Linked DNA regions of Homo sapiens: region 2 is linked to region 1. The links are contacts of gene promoters, found by promoter capture Hi-C in blood cells and fetal thymus (Javierre and others, 2016). All regions are on one chromosome and are shown on one strand. The core of a region is centred on a gene start or on the middle of the fragment in contact, and the rest is flanking DNA. Distances in the headings are between cores, read along the strand shown. Region 1 overlaps SKAP1 (src kinase associated phosphoprotein 1). Region 2 holds the start of HOXB5 (homeobox B5).

What was found. Contacts are between HindIII fragments. The CHiCAGO score rates a contact against its expected background, and 5 or more counts as called.
Region 2: the fragment with the promoter of HOXB5 here is called in contact with a fragment that was not itself captured in region 1 in 2 of 17 cell types (megakaryocytes and erythroblasts); the score reaches 7.6 in megakaryocytes.

The regions. Positions count from the first base shown.
Region 1 is chr17:48,372,669-48,379,713 of GRCh38, forward strand. All of the region lies in intron 2 of SKAP1 (src kinase associated phosphoprotein 1), which reads right to left. Among named protein-coding and RNA genes, the nearest start is that of SKAP1, 54 kb to the right of the region's middle. The HindIII fragment of the contact is 3,399 bases long and covers 2,853-6,251 here.
Region 2 is chr17:48,592,529-48,599,573 of GRCh38, forward strand. It overlaps HOXB5 (homeobox B5), which reads right to left and starts at 1,251. Exons shown (of 2, transcript NM_002147.4): 1 at 593-1,251. The coding sequence starts at 1,154. All of the region lies in intron 1 of HOXB-AS3 (HOXB cluster antisense RNA 3), which reads left to right. HOXB6 (homeobox B6) reads right to left here. Exons shown (of 4, transcript NM_018952.5): 3 at 5,208-5,700; 4 at 3,223-4,144. The coding sequence starts at 5,622. The coding sequence ends at 3,885. RefSeq lists silencers at 875-924, 5,472-5,571 and enhancers at 1,181-1,688, 1,390-1,459, 1,689-2,194, 3,237-3,908, 3,966-4,135 and 1 more. The HindIII fragment of the contact is 5,828 bases long and covers 607-6,434 here.

The sequences.
Region 1 (7,045 bases), core at 3,302-5,801:
TGCATTCTGTCACATAGGCTGGAATGCAGTGGTGCAATCATAGCTTATTGTAAACTTGAACTCCTGGGCTCAAGCAATCTTCCTGCCTCAGCCTCCGAAGTAGCTGGGACTATAGGTGTGCACCACCACACCTGGCTAATTTCCTTTATTTTTCATTTTAGTAGATACAAATTCTCACTATGTTGCCCAGACTGGTCTCGAACTTCTGGCCTCAAGTGATCCTCCTGCTTTGGCCTCCCCAAAGCACTGGGATTACAGGCATGAGCCACTATGCCCAGCCCAGGACTACTATTATCCTCATTTTACACATGAGGAAACTCAAACTCAGGAAGGTCAAACAACTTGGCCAAGATCACATAGCTACTAAGTGGCAGAACCAAGATTTGTATCCAGGTTGTATTAGTCCATTTTCACACTGCTATAAAGATACTACCTGAGACTGGGTAATTTATAAATAAAAGAGGTTTAACTGACTCACACTTCCACATGGCTGCGGAGGCCTCAGGAAACTTAAAACCATGGTGGAAGGTGAAAGGGAAGCAAGCACCTTCTTCACAGGGTGGCAGGAGAGAGAGAGAACATGAGAGAAGTGGGAAGCACTAGACACTTATCAAACAACCAGATCTTGTGAGAACCCACTCACTATCATGAGAGCAGCAAGGGGCAAATCTGCTCCCACGATCTAATCACCTCCCACCAGGTCCCTCCCTTGACATGTGGGGTTTATAATTCAAGATGAGATTTGGGTGGGGGGACAGAGCCAAACCATATCACAGGTCTACTTGGTTCCAGAGCCCAAGCTCTTAAATTCCATATTAACTGCTTTCCTATTGGCTGTAATATATAAAAAAAAATAAATCTGGTACTTAAGAGAAGATACAGTTGTTTTGTTAGATAGCCTATGGGCATGAATCAACCCTAATATGAATATTAGGGAGTGGTTAGACAGAGGTCTTTAACCTGAAGTCCATAGTTTAGGCTTCAGGGGATTTCCTAAACTCTCTAAAATTGTGGGTGAAATGTAACACTTGTTTTCTTTTCTCTTGGAGAAGAGTCTATAGACCTCATTAGTGTCAATAACTCACCCTTGCCCCACACCCACCAAAAATGATATGACCCACTGAATTAGGTGAATAGAGTTGTAATGGCATTATAAAACTAGCTACCCAGAAAGGCCAACATCTGTGATGTTATAACTCTAGAACATCTAGATGAATTTTTTTTTGCAACTGAAGTATTAAAAGTGTTATTTTACCTGTGACTTATGGAAATTTAAAACACATCATATACTCTCTGCCTTGGTAAACTCCTGCTGAACAAAATCAAATCTCTTCTTAATGACTTAAGGACATCCAAATTTGAACTTCTCTTTTTTGTTGTTTTTGAGACAGGGTCTTGCTCTGCTGCCCATGCTGGAGCGTAGTGACACAATCTCAGCTCACTGCAACTTCTGCCTCCCAGGCTCAAGCCATCGTTCCACCTTAGCTTCTTGAGTATCTGGGACTACAGGCACGCTCCACCATGCCTGGCTAATTTTTGTTTTTTTTTTTTTTGTACAGACAGGGTTTCACCATGTTGCCCAGACTGGTCTTGAACTCCTGGACTCAAGCAATCTGCCTGCTTGGCCTCCCAAAGTGCTGAGATTACAGATGTGAGCCATTGCATTCAGCCTGAACTTCCTTTTTGTACTAAAACAGCAATGCCTTCTGAATGCATAGGCTGTCTGCAATACTCAGTGTCCAAAGACTTCTATCTCTCTCTTGACCATCTCTGTTCTCTGATAATGGCTGTCTCCAAACAGACTGCAAAGGCTAACACTGAAGAGTTATCCTGCATTGAAAATGGAATCTTAGGATTCAGACGGACACCTAGTTGGGCATGGATTCCATGCAAGTTGATAAGGCTAGGAAAACCCCTTGCAACTGATCTTGAGCAGTCAGCCACATGGTAGAAGTTTATTTATGCCCAAGGAAATGGCTTTGCTGAGCAATGCTAAGAGTCTGTACACTAAATATTTCCTATAATTCTTTTTCTCACTTGGAAAGATTCACATTGCTTCCAAATTATCTTCTGAAAGTGTCCCATCTACTACCTTGCAGAAGGTATGGACTAGTGGCAAAGAGTAACATGGCCAGTGACACCCAACAACAGAAATGGGAAAACAGCACCATCTGGTGGAAGTCCCCAGTGGAGGCATCCAAGGCCTGGGACCCAGGGGTCCAGGTACCAGCCTTAGAAACAACTGGGCAGCAAAAGGAAGGTCTTTGGTGGAAGAGCTGGTGATCCTTCTAGTCCCAATTCCTTAATCTCACCAAAAGTACAAGACCTAATGCCTACCTACAAGGAGCTTACAATCTAGTCCAAAATATTAGCTCTTTGTATATAATGAGATGACAATCTAATATGATAAATACTACTGTAACAACAGACAATAGGCATATAACTCAATTATGTAATAGAAGAACATATCACAAGAAGGTCCCGGGTTCTTTTGGGGGATGTAATATTTCTGTGGTCTTGAGTCTATATTTACAAGCCCATCTAGGTAGATAATACAATGTTCACCTACCTACTAAATACAATGATCACAATCAAACTTATATTAAATAATAAACAACATTATCTGAGATTGACAGTATAACTCATCACCTGCTCCCCCACCACAATTTTTAAGTCCATTCCTGGACAGCAAAAAAGAAATTAAATTTTGAAAAGAAATTAAAGTACTATTTAACACTAGAGTCTCCTATAACACTTTTGCTACATGGAATCATTGCTATGGTCAATGAAACACCCACCATGAGTATAAACATTAAGAAACCTAAGAACTCTTTTTGATCAGTGAGTGATTAAGCTTTCTGATTGCAACACTGGAAACCCACATTCTAACATTCCTTCCCCTACTTTCTAGCATGAGGACTGTTTTTTCACCAGCAAATCTCACTAGTATGTCTACACAATCCCCATACTTCCTCCATGTAATAGGCAACAAACTATAATTCGATGAACTAATAAAGGAAAAATGCTAGCCAAATACATTATGGCAAAATAAAAACACTAAACAACAGGTCAGAGTTGGAGGGTTTTTTTCTGTAAATAAAAAGGAGTCATTGAAAGGTCTGTTTCTTTGTTTGTTTGTTTGTCTTTAAGGATAAAGAATGATGTCCACATCAAATCCAGCAGAGATGTGTAGCATGGATGGGAGGGAGAAAAGTGGGGAGATAGTTTAGGAAGCTACTTGAGAGCAAGAGAAAAGACAAGACATTAGATAACAGACTTAGAGACTGGCTAGGAGGAGAGCATCAAGAGGAAAGTCAGAGACGCCTTTCGGTTCCAAACTTGTGTATTGGAGAAAACAAGGTACTGCTTATGTACAAATAACTCCAGCTGATTACTGTATTCTAAACTGTTGTCTCTTTGGCCCTTGCTCTGTCATTTTTGTCACTGTTGACGCTTAAAAACCTAATTTTGTTTTATTTTTTGCTTGCTTCAGGTTAACAGCTACTCTTCGACCACTGAGACGCCATTATCTGATTAGTGAATAACTGGTAGCTGAGTGAATGTGTGACTGTGGCCCATATACTCACTGAATTTTACAGCTGGAAGGACACTTAAAATCATTTACTCTAGCCTTCACTTTACGGATGAGAACAATGAAGCATGGAGAGGTTATCTGATCGCACCATAGGAGTTTAAAAGTCCACACTGTGGGGCCACCACAGTTTATCTTGTACAGAATCAGGGGCAAGTTCAAAAATGTGATATTCATTTAAAAATGAGACAATTTCTACAAAAACATTTAAAACCTCCTTGGAAAAACTCGGCTATCATGCCTTTGATATTTTCCTTGTTATGAACATGGACATATTATTCACCTGAAGGCAAATGTTATGTAAAAAATTTTTAAGCTGGATTAGTTATTAGAGTTCATCTAGGCAAGGTGGATATCTCAGCATTAACATGCCAACACAGTCTCTGTATCTCAAGTTACGAATACTGCATTTGTTCTCTCAGTAGTAGAGATGAATAAATTTCCACTATTTGCCAGACACTCTGTGAGGGACTAAGAGCACAGAAAACCCAACTGTGGACCAGTTTGGCCGAAATAATCAAATTGTGTAGAAGTGATGTAATTGGCCCAGAACATGCAAATGGTAAAAACTGGGACCAGAAGAACCCATGTCTGACTAATGCCAGAATGTCTTACTGCCTGCACATAAGAGTTGCTAAGGGAGGATTCGAGATCAGAGAGAAGCCTGGAAGGGGAGGGTCGGGTCACAGAGAGGCCAGGCCCAAGATGCAGAGGGAGGTCAGGCAGAGGGGCCAGGTCCAGAAGAAGAGAAGGTGGCAAAGGACCAGCCTAGCACCCCAAAGCAGTTATGTTGAGTAAGGGACAGGGTAGGATACTGAGTAGGTTCCAACCTGAGAGCCTCTCTTTTCTCTTGTGAAGTAGGCTGTGACGTCATGGAAAGAGTGAGAAGCAATATGATGAGGTAAAGACTGACAAGGGTTTGCGGAGGAAAAAAAATTAAGGAAAAAGGTTGCTGATGTGGAGCATGTGAAATAACTACCAGTTATCACTAAGGGTTCGACTGAGGTTGAAGACTAAACTTTACTGTAGTGCAGCCAGGATGGAGACTCATGCCTATAATTCCAGCATTTTAGGAGGCCAAGGTGGGCAGATCACTTGAGTCCAGGAATTTCAGACCAGTCTGGGCAACATTGTGAGACCCCATCTCTAGAAAAAATAAAAAAAAAAATTAGCCATGTGTAGTGGCTTGTACCTGTGGTCCCAGCTACCTAAGAGGCTGAGGTGGGAGGACTGCTTTAGCCCAGGAGGTTGAGGCTGCAGTGAACCATGATTGTGCCACTACACTCCAGCATGGGTGACAGAGCAAGACCCTGTCTCAAAAAAAAAAAAAAAAATTAAATAAAAACATTTACTATGGCACAATCCAATTGTGCAATTTTTCTCCAGAACTGAATAGCTTTCCAGATATACAAACAGAGAAGATGAACAGTTGAACTGATGATCCAAGATTAGGATTTTTCTAGGCTTGTGGGATGAAAAGACAAGAGAATCAGAGAAGACTAGAGGACTAGAGGGATAGGTAATAGAGCTCAGGCTGACCAGAGAAGAAACCAATTGCCAAAGACTTCACTATAGTGCCTGCATATATTAAATACTTTAGTCCATTAAAACATTCAAAAGCAGGAGATATCATTACTCTTCTCTTTCAGGAGTAGAACTGTCCTTTGTCCCACAGGTCCCAAACTTCTCCTACCCCTGTGTTCCCTATTTCAATGGATGATATTACTATCCACCCAGCTGAAACTTGGGAATCATCCCTATACCTCTTTTTCTATTACTATATATATCCCATTAGTCACCAAGACCTGTAGATTCTACTCCCTTAATAACCTTTTAATCAATCTCCTCTCCATCTCTGCAGACACTGAGTTCATCTGAGCTTTCAAAAGGCCTCACCCACATCCATGTAACCACATCGCAAACGGTCCATCTGCCCTCATCCTCCTCCCTTTGACCTACTCTCCTCAGTGCTGATGAAAAAGGGAATGGAATGAGCATGAAGAGCAAAGTCTTTGCAGACAGGTCTGGGTTGAAGTCCCAGCTCCTCCATCTTCTAGCTGAGACTTTTGCTGCAGCCTTAGTTTCCTCATCTTTAAAACAGAAATAATAACCACATCTGCCTCATTTGGTTCTTGGGAGGACTAACAGAGGTAATGCACGTAAAGAACCTGGTAAACCTCCAATAAATGTCAGCTGTTAGTCATTAGCACCTTCATTATCTTAATGACCTAAAAGGCCAGCTTGGTCCTATCATTCTCCTGCTTGAAATCCTTCCATGGCTCACCTCAGCTCTCAGGTCCTCCCCGGCTCCCGTTCACACTCCTGCCTACTTGTTCAAGCACCCTCTGCCAGCAAACCTTTCCTTTCATGCCTCCTTCTTCTCCTAGCGGACCCTCCATGATCCTTTGAGGCTCAGCTAAGTGTCCTATGTTAGGGTTCCCACAGCACATCTGTGCATGCCTCTCAGTAGCACCTATAATACTGTATTAGCATCTTCTTGTCTCTCTGTCACTGAGCCCTCAAGGGGCAGTGGCATAGAGCTTGTGCTCAATAAATGTTTGCTAAATCAGCGAATGGAGGTAAGAAGCAGGAAGGGCTGTCTGAGTTCAGTATGAGACTCATTCAGTATAAGAGAGCATTTCAGGGAGGGGTAGGGACAAGCTTGGAGAGGCAGGCAAAGGGCAAGGCACTTCCAGGCAATGCTATGAAGTATGGATTTTATTCCAAAAAGGTGGGGCTGGGGTGCCTTCATTTTCCTCTAAATCACTCACACAAAGTCAAGAGGGGAAAAAAGAAAGAAAATCAAAGTAAGGGATGAAAAAGAAGAGAGACAAAAATAAGAAAGCTTTGTTAAATTGAAACCTTCATCCAAATGAAGAATTTTTTCCCCCAAAGCCTGGCTTCAAAGACAAACCACAAAATGACCAGTAAAAATATACTTCAAAAGACACGACTGAATACACATTGCGGTGGCAAGAATCCAATATATAAATACAATCAATTTGTTTCCTCATTAGAAGCTTTCATGAAGAAAATGATTTAATACAAATGCTAAAGTTACTGACATAGATTAATTGAAAAATAACAACAGAATCCTAATTAAAGATATAACATTATTTCACTCATTCACACTACACCAAAATGTGAATCAATAAATAACAGAATTTAGAAAGCCAGCTTCTACTGGTAACCACTCTAAGAACTACAATGAATTACTGACATTTTCATAAAATGCCTATCCTTATGTGTACACTTTCTTCTATTTAAGAACTGAGATGTATACAGAAATCCAGAAATCATTTTAAAATTATTTCACACTTTTCCTAAATTCGTACCATTTTACTTAATCCAGATTATTGCTTTTGCCCTCAAGTTGATTTTTTTCCCTAATTGTAAAGATTCTATACTAAAGTATCTTCTTCTTTTTTTTTTTTTTTTTGAGACAGAGTCTTA
Region 2 (7,045 bases), core at 1-2,500, 220 kb after region 1:
CGGGGGAGCAGGACCCAGGCGTCCCGGCACCCAGCTCACCACAGCTCCAATCCTCTCTACTCCAGATGCCCACATTCAAGCTCGATTTCTGCACCCCTTTCTACTGCATCCCCCACTTCTGCAGGCAGCCAGTGCGCCCGGCTTTGTCTCTTGCTCGCTCCTAGTGCCTCACCCTTGGCTGGGCTCAGGCGGCCGCTCGCCCCGGGAGGGAGGAGAGCGGTTGCACTTTTGCCCCGGAAAGCTCCTTTTACTGTTCACCCCTTCTTTGCTAGCGACAGTCTCAAAATTTCAGGGGTAAGCAGGACCCTTCCCCACATTATATGAACCCCATCCTTTATCCTAAAGCTGGTTCAGCTGCGCTAATAAAAACCTAAGCCGAAGCTGGAAACAAATTATTAAAAATACCCCCCTCTTAACAGAGAGACCCTTTTTGGCTCTGTCTACGAAGCTATGAGGCCCCTCTTAGATACTTCTCCCCCTTAGAAAAATGAATCTATATTTAGGGTAAAGCCAAGCTCTCCTTGTCCCCCCGATCCCACCCCAAAACGCAGAGAAGGAAAGCCGAGAAGACAAAAAAGAGAGAGAGAATTACCATGGCTGATGTGAAGCTTCCTCATCCAGGGGAATATTTGCGGAGTCTGCCCCTCGGGCGCGGCTGTGGAGGTGGCCATGGGCTCTGGCTGCGCCCGAGCTAGGCTGGGGCTGCTTAGCTGGCTTGCCGCTTCCTCAGGCTCCGAGGACGCGCTGGCCTCGTCTATTTCGGTGAAATTGGCGCTGGAGCTGGCTGAGGTCGCCTGGTCGGAGGGGGACGAAGCAGAGGGCTTGGCGCCGTGGCTGTCGCCGTTGGTGCAGGGCAGGGACTCGGGCGAGGACAGGGAGCAGCTCGAAGCCGCTTGCCTGAAGCGGGGCTCCTGGGCGGGCGCGGGGAAGGCGCGCGAGCTCTCGCCCACCGCCCCAAAGTGGCTGGAGGAGGCCGAGGAGCGGTTGACGCTGAGGTCCATCCCATTGTAATTGTAGCCGTAAGAGCCGGTGTGCATGGCAGCGGGATCCCTGTAAGAGCCGCTCAGAGAGCTGCCACTGCCATAATTTAGCAACTGATAGTCCGGGCCATTTGGATAACGCCCCGAGAAGGAGTTTACAAAGTACGAGCTCATTTGGGTGATTTTGGAGGGCTTGATTTGTGGATCGTGGTCGTTATAACCCTGTGCTTCACGATTTATGATGTATTAATGAATTATAGCGATGCACTGTACTTCGTTTTGCTATGTATGCGGCCAAATATGGGGGGGGGGTTGGAAGGGGGGTGGGGGGCGTTAGGGAATCACGTGCTTTTGTTGACCAGTCGTAAATTCTCGCTGATGACCTCAAGAGGTAATTCATGCTCTATGGTTACAAATAATGACGATCCGAGAATCGTTAGGGCCGATTCAATGCGAGCCTCCGAGAGAGGGGGAAAAAAGGAGAAGGGGGAGAAACAGAGAGAAGGTTGGCTTTGGCCTCTGAGCAGAGCGCGCCACCTCCCGGCGACCGACGGGAGCGCGGGCGTGAGACCGCCATGGCGGCGGGCGGCTGCCTCCCTGCTGGCTCCCTGCAGGCTCCCTGCAGTCGCCGGGAGAGAAAGAAACCCGGCCAAGGCTCAGCCACAGGGTTGAGCCTTTTAGAGCAGGGGTTGGGCTTTTTACCCACTTTCTTGTGGGTGGGGTTAGCCTCTCTATTTGGTTCTTTCTCCCTACATCATCATTGTCGTTATTATTTTAACTTTGGATGAGAAGATCAAAGATAGAGTTGCTTTTCCCTTTCTTGGGCTTTGCAAGTCTCCGAATTGGAGGCGGAAATGGGGGAAGGGTTGGAAGTTGTGTGTGAAAAACAATTATTGCAACGGGTTTTCCCCAGGAGCTTAGTCCGGCCTGCATCCTGGTGGAACTGCTGTTACCGGTCCACAGCGCCCAGGCCGAGCCGGCAGGGCTGGGCGGGAGGCTTGAAAAAGAAGGAGAAGCGTTCACTTCTCCTGGGCCACTTGGAAGTTCGAAATCCCCTTCCGGACCTCCTTGGTGGTCCTTAGCCCAGGCGTGGGGAGTGACAGAGCAGGACAGGGACCCCAGAAACCGAGCACAGCTGGGGCTAAGCGGCCTAGTTGCCGAAAAGACTGCAGCGGCCACCGCGTCTGCTGCTTAGTTTGAGTAGTAACATGTGTCTGAGAGTTTGTAAAGCGGGATCCCTTCCCCTCCTCCTCGGCTATTGCATTCGGAGGCCCCACTACAGGTCCCTCACTCGCAGCTAGGCAGTTTGAGAATTTGCCTGGTGGCAGCCGCCTTCCCGGAAAAGGGGTTCCAAGGACCCGCATGCTTTGCTGAGCACGCTGGGCGGCCAGAGACCGCCGCAGCTGGTCTCCTATTAGGAGGGGACTATTTTCTTTAAAAATAAGAAAGGAAGCGAGAGGGCGGAGGAATAAAGGAAAACAGTGACCGCAGCTTGCCTTCTGGGTGCCGGTGCAAGCAGAGAGAGAATGAGCCATTCTGGGTTGAGAGGATGACACTAAAAGCCCCATCACCTGGCCTCCTGCCCTGGGGTCTCCAAGGAGCAAGGGAAAGTTGTGGCCTTCGGCCTGTGCCTGGCTGGTGGCTTTACATTCCCCTACTTGAGGCTGATCTCCTACTTGAGGCTGATCTGCTACTTGAGGTGGGAAGGGGCACCTGGAGCCTTCAGCTGCAGGGTGAGAGATACCCAGTGGCCCCATTTTTCAGTCTCCAGAGCCACAGGCCAGGAGCGGAGGGCCAAGGCTGGCGAAAAAACCTGGCCATGTGGACGGGCCAAAGACCAGGGGTCGCTGCGAAGGTGAGGACAGAAAAGCGCTGCAGAGGCCCCCAGACTATGGCTCCGTCTCCGCCAGAGAGCTTTAGGGGCCTCAGTGGCTCCCTTAGTGCTGTGTATACACGAGGAAAGGCTAGAGAATGAGAGGGACACAGCACCTCTCCATCCCCCAAGTCTGCACGGGGAGAAGCGGCTGTGAGCCTCAGCACCAGGGAAACGCAGCGCTGGGGCCTGGGCAGGACTGATCGCTCCAGCCTTTATCTCAGCTGTAACTTCCCAGTCGAACAGGGCTCGCTTCGGCGGGCCAGGGCTCTCGCCTTTGCTGAAGAATTCTGGCTCAGGAAAGATGGAGAGGCTGGGGGTTGAGGAGAGAGGAAAAAATGGCAGGGGAGGATTGGAGGTGACCGAGCGTCGAGTTTTCACATCTTTATTATTGTTGTTGTTGTTGTTATTATTATTATTATTATCATCATCATCATCATCATCATCATCGAAGTATTTCACGTCCAGAGCTAAGACAAGACTACAAACACAACACATAGAAAATTAATAAAATAGAACTTTGTTTTCTTCTGAGGCTCCTCTTCTTACTTCTAGGTAGTATGTGCTCCTTCCAGTGGCTTTGGGGAGGGGGTGGGAGAGACGACAGGTCTGGGATCAGGGAGTCTTCAAGGCCCCCGCTGAGGGGACAGCGAATCTACCATTGAACCGTGCACGGGGGACATGGACAAAATGAGACGCGACAGGGACAAGAGCATTTTGCTCTGCTTCCAGGAAACATCAAGTGAGTCCGCTCCTCAGTTCTCACCAGGAAGCCTGATCAGGCTGAGGCGAGTTCCTCGGGAAGGAAGGGCGCGCGGGATGCTGGGTGGGCTCGAGTAGTGAGGCCTCAGAGCACCCGCCGGGAGCTGTGCGGGCGGGGGCGTCCAGGAGAGCGCTGGGCCCCGCCTGTCTGCGCCGGAGAGCAGGTCTCCTGGCTCCCCCACCCGAGAGCCTTCCTTCCCGGGTCTCTCTGACGCCCTCGGCTCCCCACAGGCCTTTCCCCTCGCGTCCTCCCTCCCTTTCCAGCACCTTCACTCGGCCTGTTTTTCTTCCTCCTCCTCGGCACTGAGCTGAGACGCGCTGAGCAGTTTGCTCTCCTTTTTCCACTTCATGCGTCGGTTCTGGAACCATATCTTGATCTGCCTCTCCGTCAGGCACAGGGCGTGCGCGATCTCGATGCGCCGCCGCCGCGTCAGGTAGCGATTGTAGTGAAACTCCTTCTCCAGCTCCAGCGTCTGGTAACGTGTGTATGTCTGGCGGCCTCGCCGGCCGCTGGGCCCAAAGGAGGAACCTGTTACGCAGAGTGGAGATGCTGAGGCCTGCGGTCACCGGGCCCAGGACCCCCTCCCCTAGTCGACCCTCGAACACAGACTCCAGCCAGTACCGGGATGCCCTCTATTCTGCCGGCTCCCTTCCCCCGTTTCGCACTCCTCCAGCGCCCCCTCCAGATTCCCTCCTAGTCTCCTAGGCCTGTGCCGTCTGTCTAGACTCTAGATGGGGGAGGGGAGGAGCAGTTTGAACTCCCACCTGAGCCTGGGGGGAGGGGCTGGTCAGGTGTGTCTCTTCCTAGTTGCATCTTGTCTTTCCCTCCCTTTCCATCCATCTTGTTCCCACCCCCCGTCATCCCCCCAACCCAATGATAAATCCAGGCCGTTAATCCGTAATGACGTAGATCGATCCATAGTCCACATTAACGGCTCCTCACTTTCGAGTCCGGCTAATGGACATCAGTTGGGACTTAAGGCCAACAAATAATCCAACCTGAGACCCCGCGCCTGTTTCTCCCTCTCTCGCTCCGCCTGCTCCCTCTCTCTTCCTTCCCCTTATTCCTCCTCCCTCCTCTGACTACCACCCCTTTCCTGGTGCCTCATCTTGCCCCAGCTCCCCACCCACAGGGAAACACAGTCCCAGACAGACTCAACTCTTTCTCTTCAGCGTCACCCCCTACCCCCTTGCATGACGCACTCCGTTTTTAATGGAGCCGTCTTTGGTTGGGGAACCCTACCAGGGCTGGGAGAGGGGGGTTGGGGGCTCAAAGTAAAGCCAAGCCAGTGACTGCAGGCTCCTGCTCCCTTCCCTGTCCTGGAACCCCGGCTCTGGCCAGGCGCCCCAGGAGAGCACACTTGCTCCCCATGGCTCCCAGTGCGGCTGGGACTTTGCAAACTTTGTAACTCCTGCCTAATAGGGGACACAGCGAGAGACCCCCGGCCGGCGCCCAATCTTCTTCTATCTCCTAACTGAGATGCCCACCCAGCACCCTGTGGGAGATTGGGGCAGGGGGCGCTCACTAGTTCTGTGTCCCGGGGTGGGCGCCCAGGGGAGCCGGGGCGACGGCGACGGGAAGTCTCACTCACTGTTGCACGAATTCATCCGCTGCATCCACGGGTAGACCGGAGTGGAGCACTTCTGCTCTTCTGTCTCGCCGAACACGCTCTTGTCCTGCGCGCAGTCCGACTTCCGCGGCTCGGGGTGGAACGGGGGCTGCTCGTCGGCGCCGGAGAGTGCGCAGGCCGACTCTTTCTCGCGGTAGAAGGCCGGCGCCGGCCCGTAGTCGCAGGGCGCCGCTCGGCCGTAGCCACCGCCCGCCGGCGGGTAATAGGAGGAAGTGGCAAAGCCCTTGTCCTGGCCCGGCCCTGGCCCGTAGGGCGCGGGGTAATGTCTCAGCGGGTCCGCATAGCCCGACGAATAGAGCGGTAGCTGGCCCAGGAAGGACTCCTGCCCGCTGGCCAGAGTGACGGGGAAGGTGGAGTTCACGAAATAGGAACTCATTGGGAGGGGAGGCGCGCGCGGCCGCTGCTGCTCCGCCGGGTTTATGATTTGTTGTGTTTTATAGTCCGAGCGCCGCGCCTATTAGTAGTATATCCGAGATTGGGTTTTAGCTGAGGGGGGATGGCGAGGTGCCAGTGAGGGCCAGAAGGAAATACAACCATCTGATCCAACACTGACCAATGGCAGAGGCAGGAATTGTCAAATAGCACCCAGGAGGAGCGCAGCCCGCACGAGGGACCCGCGCACAAACCTATCAACCTTTTTTTTTTTCCTCCTTCTCCTTCGCCTTTCTCCTCTCTCCCCCCAACAACACAACGCGTCCTGTTCCACCTACGTAGGATCTGTGAAACAGGCTCAGTGCCTTTGAGGGAGGAGGGAACGTTTAGATTGAGACCACCCCACTCCCGGGTGATTAAATAAATATGTCTCTCCCCCACCCCACGCAGGATTGGAAAAAGTTAATTGTGTTTTCAGAAAAGTTAACCCCTGCGTTGCTTCGACCCCTTCTCTCCGGGGAGGGTTGGGTAAATGTCTCCGAATCGCCTTGAGAGAGAACTAAAGAAGGTTTGTTTCTAGGGTTTTGTGTCGGTAGAAGGTGAGAAGAGTTCTCCGCTAAGATAAGCAAAGAAGAAACACCCTCCTCCCCAGGTTTTGAACATCGTTTTTCCTGTTTATCAGATCTGCTCTGTCTCCTCCAAGCCTCGGCTTATTGTTCCTGCTTCTCCACAACCCTTCTGGTCTGAGGGGGCAGGCCAGATCCCACTGCCTAGAAGACCCAGAAGAGGAGGAGCTGGCAGGAGGGACTGAGCCCAAGCTTCCCCTTCTGACTCTGTGGCTAGACTAGGAGCTTCTTGGAAGGCGGCGACGAGGGTGGCTGCCCAAAACATTCTGCCTGGTTCTAGTATGCAGCTGCTCACCCTTGGCAGGGGAAGGGGCACTGGGGAAAGGGACTAGCCCTCTCCTCACTTGGTGATATGGAGTGAAGGAGTGAGGGGTATCCCTCAGCCTAGGTGGCTTTATTTGTCTGATCCCTATCCTGCCTGCAACCCTCACTCCAGTACCCTCTACAATCCCAAAAGACTTAAGAATAGCCTGGGCTATAGGATTTTCAGGAATCAGGGATGTCCCAGTAAATCTGGGCACAAGGAAGAAATCATTCTTCTTCCAGTTGTGGGCTTTGAACCCTCCTGATAGTTGAGGCAGTCAGAGACCACTGGGAAGAAATGCATCCTCACTCCTCTTCTAAGTCTCTGTAGGAGCTGCCAGTTCTTTTTAAAATTAATTCTTTCCCAAGACTTGGTTTTTGCTTTAGTTTGATAGGGAGAGAAGGTCGTTTGCGTTCTCTTGGGGACTCAGCAGGCTGCTTCCAGCCATCAGCCAGCATCCCCTCTCCCTTCTGTCTGTATCTCAGCATCGCTACAAT